2 separate regions of the Homo sapiens genome follow, and region 1 is linked to region 2. The links are contacts of gene promoters, found by promoter capture Hi-C in human tissues and cell types (Jung and others, 2019). All regions are on one chromosome and are shown on one strand. The core of a region is centred on a gene start or on the middle of the fragment in contact, and the rest is flanking DNA. Distances in the headings are between cores, read along the strand shown. Region 1 overlaps CSTPP1 (centriolar satellite-associated tubulin polyglutamylase complex regulator 1). Region 2 holds the start of CKAP5 (cytoskeleton associated protein 5).

What was found. Contacts are between HindIII fragments. The study calls those that stand out against the background at their distance.
Region 1: a contact is called between a fragment that was not itself captured here and the fragment with the promoter of CKAP5 in region 2, in 2 of the 25 tissues and cell types used here (IMR-90 fibroblasts and dorsolateral prefrontal cortex).

Annotation. Positions count from the first base shown.
Region 1 is chr11:47,137,292-47,139,991 of GRCh38, reverse strand. CSTPP1 (centriolar satellite-associated tubulin polyglutamylase complex regulator 1) reads right to left here. Exons shown (of 9, transcript NM_024113.5): 4 at 2,263-2,347. Among named protein-coding and RNA genes, the nearest start is that of ARFGAP2, 38 kb to the left of the region's middle. The HindIII fragment of the contact is 3,299 bases long and covers 1-2,700 here.
Region 2 is chr11:46,844,896-46,847,595 of GRCh38, reverse strand. CKAP5 (cytoskeleton associated protein 5) reads left to right here and starts at 1,316. Exons shown (of 44, transcript NM_001008938.4): 1 at 1,316-1,376. LRP4-AS1 (LRP4 antisense RNA 1) reads right to left here and starts at 1,185. Exons shown (of 3, transcript NR_038909.1): 1 at 1,097-1,185; 2 at 879-986. RefSeq lists enhancers at 922-1,041, 1,496-2,073 and silencers at 1,252-1,331, 1,512-1,661. The HindIII fragment of the contact is 16,643 bases long and covers 1-2,700 here.

The DNA of each region.
Region 1 (2,700 bases), core at 110-2,609, 290 kb before region 2:
TCAAAAGGAGCGAGGTGATTCTTGGTGCAGTGCAGCCAATGCAGCTTTGTTTTCAGTGGGTCAAACCACAAAGCAGAAATGATGCCATGACACAGGGAGGTGGGAGCATGAAGAGACTCCTTGTGCTCCCGATCCCCCATCTCTGGATTCAGGCTGACTGCGGTTCCAGTTCTGCCACTGCTACTTACAAGCTATCAGTATATTCGCACAACATTGTCACCCGTCTGAGCCTCAGTTCCCACTTCAGTGAAGTGAGCAGTAACAGTACCCTTCCCTCAACTGGGGTTCATCACTTTCATGCTCCCTTTTTTTTTTTTTTTGACGTTCAGTCTCACTCTGTCCCCCATGCTGGAGTGCAGTGGCACAATCGGCTCACTGCAACCTCTGCCTCCCAGGTTCAAGTGATTCTCCTGCCTCAGCCTCCCAAGTAGCTGGGATTACAGGTGCCTGCCACCACGCCAGGCTAATTGTTGTATTTTTAGCAGAGACAGGGTTTCACCATGTTGGTCAGGTTGGTCTCGAACTCCTGACCTCAGGTGATCCATCCACCTCGGCCTCCCAAAGTGCTGGGATTACAGGCATGAGCTACCACGCCCAGCTGCTTTCAGGCCCTTCTGGTCTCCAACCGCAACCCTCTTCATCACAAGTCACTGCCAACCCTTGCCTCCTCTTTTCTCAGAATATCCTCTAGGGGTGTGTGTGGGAGTGTGGGTATGTATTTGTGTGTGTGTTTTGTTGTTTGCCTAATACTCTCACCACCCTCCAACTCTGTCTTCAGAGCCGGAGGCTCCCCACAGAAACCACAAAGGATCATTTTAAAGGGAAGTAACAGTTTTTACAAGGATTAGGTGAGATAGTTAAGGTAAACAAATTTAAATAGAACAATGAAGGTAAATGCATTCAGTATGATATAGGGAAGGTAGGCATTCTTCGATAAACATGATTTTTGCTGTACGTCCATTTGCAACCCTAGCTCAGGTTTTTTTTTTTTTTTTTTTTTTTTTTTTTTTTTGAGACGGAGTCTTGCTCTGTCGCCCAGGCTGGAGTGCAATGGCACGATCTCTGCTCACTGCAACCTCCGCCTCCCAGGTTCAAGCGAATTCTCTTGCCTCCACCTCCCGAATAGCTGGGACTACAGGCAAGCGCAACCGTGCCTGGTTAATTTTTTGTATTTTTAGTAGAGATGGAGTTTCGCCATGTAGGCCAGGCTGGTCTTGAATACCTGGCTTCAGGGGATCTGCCTGCCTTGGCCTCCCAAACTGCTGGGATTACAGGCGTGAGCCACCGTGTCTGGCCTAGCTCAGGTTTTGAGTTAAGTAAGTAAAAGTTAACTGAGGCATAGTCCAATTACCTCATGTGGTTAAAAATTGTGAATGATGGTGAAACCCAACACAGAAATTAGGGGCTTCTAACTATTTCTGCCAAGTCCTGGTTCTGGACTGATCTTGAAAACCTTCTTCTGGCATAAATAATATAATGTGCCTTTCCTTCAACTGGGGCTTTATCACCTTTATGCCCTTCCAGTCCCCAACCTCAACTCTCTTCATCACAAGTCACTGCCAACCCTTGCCCCCTGATATGGTTAGGCTTTGTGTTCCCACCTAAATCTCAACCCGAATTGTAATCCCCAGGTGTTGAGAGGGAGACCTGGTGGAAGGTGATTGGATCACATGGGCAGTTTCCCCCATGCTGTTCTTGTGATAGTGAGTGAGTTCTGAAGACATTTGATGGTTTTATAAGCGTCTGACATTTCCCCTGTCTGTACTTCTCTCTCCTACCACCATGTGAAAAAGGTCCTTGCTTCCCCTTTGCCTTCCACCACGATTGTAAGTTTCCTGAGGCCACGCGGAACTGTGAGTCAATTAATCCTCTTTTCTTCATAAATTACCCAGTCTTGGGTAGTATCTTTACAGTAGCGTGAAAACACACAAATGCAGCCCCTCTTTTCTCAGAATATCCTCTAGGGTGTGTGTGTGTGGGGGTATTGGAGGGGTCTGGGCTTTTTCTGCCTCTTCATCTCACCACCCTCCAACTCTATCTTCAGACCCTGAGGCTCCCCACAGAAACCACAAAGGATCATTTCGCTTCCCTTTGGAAATGCAGAATGTATTATGTTTTGGGGCACATCCCAAATAGACCCCTCTCCCACTGCCAGTTTCTTCCCTAAATGCTCCTTTTTTTCATTTGTATACACTCCAGGTTTCTCTAGGAAGCAGTGGCCCACAGAGAGCTGAGTTGGTTTCAAGAGTCCAGGAGACGTACCTGGCTGCTTTCTGAGTGAGCTCCAGCGGGAAATCAGGACACAGTAATTGCAGCAAACAGTGATATTCTTTCATGGTCAGCAAATCTGAAGTGGAAATGGAGAGGAACACATTAGGTCTCTGCATTTCAAGTCACTGCCCTCTTTTTGTTCATTTCATGAGTTTCAGACCTGGTCTTGGTAGAGCTGTTCTTTTAAAAGCAAGTCAGTGTGAAGGGTATGCTAGTCTCTAACCTCCAGGTGTGAGATTTTAAGATCAGTATTTCTACAAAGCTTTTCCAGGGTGGGAGGCATCCAGTTACACCATTTTGACCAAAGGAGCTTCACTGGTATGAAAATTGGTCGGGTGAAGAGAGCAAACAAGAGAGGCACCTTCATCAGTCTTCTTTAGTTTGGTTTTCCTTGTATATAAAAATCTGGAAGAACAAGTCATTTCAAAG
Region 2 (2,700 bases), core at 67-2,566:
TACATTTTTCTTTGCATACTTGCACAGATCTGTACGATAAATTCCTCATAGTGGATTACTGGGCCAGAACTAGATTATGTACATTTTAGTAACTGTCAAATTGTCCTCCTAAAGGTTTGTACCAATTATACTCTTACCAATATTGACTTTGAGTGTCCATTTTTCCAAATCTCTTTATATTTTTAAAAACAGAGATGGGGTCTTGATAGCAAGACCCAGGTTGGTCTTGAACTCCTGGCCTCAAGCAATCCTCCTGCCTCGGCCTCCCAAAGCGCTAGGATTACAGGCATAAGCCATTGCACCCAGCCTGTTTTTCCAAATCTTGACCAACCAAAGGCTGTTGAACTTTTTCATCTCTGCCAACTTGACAATGAAAAAACATGTAATTGTTTCATTTACTTTTATCCATCCTCTCTCCATCTTTTAGCCTGTTGGGAATCTACACATTCTTTAAATCCTAGGTTAAAAATTCATCTTCCTCACAGATCCTCCCCCATCAAATTTCTCCTGTCTCTAAGCATTTATAGCTTTTCATTTATACAGTTATTACACTGCTTTGAATTTTAGTGACTAGTCTGTATGTTATATTCCTCCAACCACTGTAGATTACAAATTCCTTGGAAGTAAGGACCTGAACTCATTCACAGAAACACTGAATGTAGAGCTAAGCTAAAATTCTGGAGATCATGTTAACCAAGCCTCTCGTTTTTATAAGGGAATATTAAGCATTTGCAGGATGCGTTACAGTTCACAAAGGCTTTTCTCAGACATTCTATTAGTTATATTAACTCCTCCATTAAATTGTAAGGGAAACATCGTTATCCCATTTTACAGATAAGGAAACAACTCCAGAAGATTTACTGAGAAAAGTGATTTACTCAGAACAGTTCCAAGGTCAGAATCCAGCATCCTGGCTTCATTCGCTGTTACTTCCACGACATCTCAGCTGCCTCTGGTTTCCCTCACAGCACTTAGCTTCACAATCTCTAGGGAATGAAATGACCAAAAAAAATTGTCGGGTGTTGACAGCAGCCTGAACATCTGTAATTAAATAAAGCAAACATGCTGACGACCAAGGATGCCCGGGTCTACACACATTCTTTCGCCTTTCTTTCTGGAGTCGGCAGACTTGCCCCCGGCAGCGACCAGCGTCCCCACCCGTGCAGGCGGCGTCTGGTCCAGAGGGAAACACGGCTGCGCGCGGCCCCTTTAAGGCTGCGGGCGGCGCGTGCCCACAGGCCTTTCAAATGGACCAATAAAAGTCCGATGGGCGGTCCGTCGAGGACCAATAAAGAACGAGGACACTGCGGGGTGTGCGGCGGCCCAAGCGGTTTCAAACGGCTTAGAGCAGGCCGCTTGGTTCTGACCCAGCTGAGGTGAGTGGTCGGTGGGCCTGCCCCACCCGCGAGGCCCTCGAGTGCAGGCATCGCGCGCGCAGAGGAGCCCCTGAATCCTGGGCGGCTGGAGGTCTCCAGACGCGCGCCCCACTTGCCCCACGAACCCGGCAGGTCTGAGGCGGCGAAGCGAGCCGGAGGCCGGGGGACCTGCGGCGGGCAGGGCCGGGGGCGTGGGCGCTCGTGTGCGGCGGAGGCCGGGGTTGGGCTCCAGGTGGCCAGAGCGCGCCGCAGCGTGGCGCGGGTGGCAGCGTCCGCGGGGCGCGGGCGGTGCAGGGCCGCGCCTGGCGGCAGCGATTTACCAAGACTAGGGCGGGGGCCCCGAGAGCCGGCCCTGCTAGAGTGCCTCTCGCGTAATTGTCAAGTGAATGAATAAGTAAGCGCCTACGAGGGCTGTGGTGGTTGCGAAGGGCCTTGTCGCCCTGGAGCAAGGACAGCGGCACCGGGGCCTGGCCGCACACCTGTGTCCCTGCTGGCTTGCTGCGATGTGAACGATTCCGATCATCCACCACCCCGCCCTTAACGACTGGCTTTCTCTCTCTCAACGTGTCGGGAGCGTTCTGGTGTCCTTCCAGCCCTGGAGGTGTTGGGGAACCAATACAATAGCCAGCAGTGTGGGTTGGGCCTTGCTACTTTAAGGTCGGGCTCGGTGAACTAGATTCTTACTTTTGAGCTCTCCCCTCTACTTGTAATCGTGGTAATTGTTGAGCAGGATTGAAATGCATTCCGTTGTGTTTCTTGGATAGAAAATGATGAAAGGGTTGTTGCCAGAGTGGCTAGTGTGTGTTAGAAAATATATTCGTGTTGATGAATCTTAACAATGAGTTTTTTATTCAGCATCAATAGAGGTTGAAGTGGTTTTTGCAGAACTTGCCCCAAATTTATGCGTGGCTCTAATTTAATTCTCATGGGACCAAGGCATCAAATCTTGGCCCAGAAATGCTGCCTGTCTTATGCATAATTATAGTAATTGAAAACTCATTTTTAGAAAGGTGAGCTCCTCCTTCCTCCATTTTCATCACCCTGAAAAGTCCTTCTTTTGACCTAAAGAGCCAATAAATTAAGCTAAGAATCTTTTGAAACTTTAAGAAATTGTAGAAGACTTTGACTTCTCTGAAGTGACTGGACAAACTGTAATGCTTTTACCAAATTTAATGATATAGATAAAGGTGAAATCAATTTATTTTGCAACCATAAGTTAAATCTAGTTGGTAAACTCATGTAAAAAAATTTTTAAATAAGATTTTAGGCTGGGCGCGGTGGCTGACGCCTGTAATCCCAACACTTTGGGAGGCCGAGGCGGGCG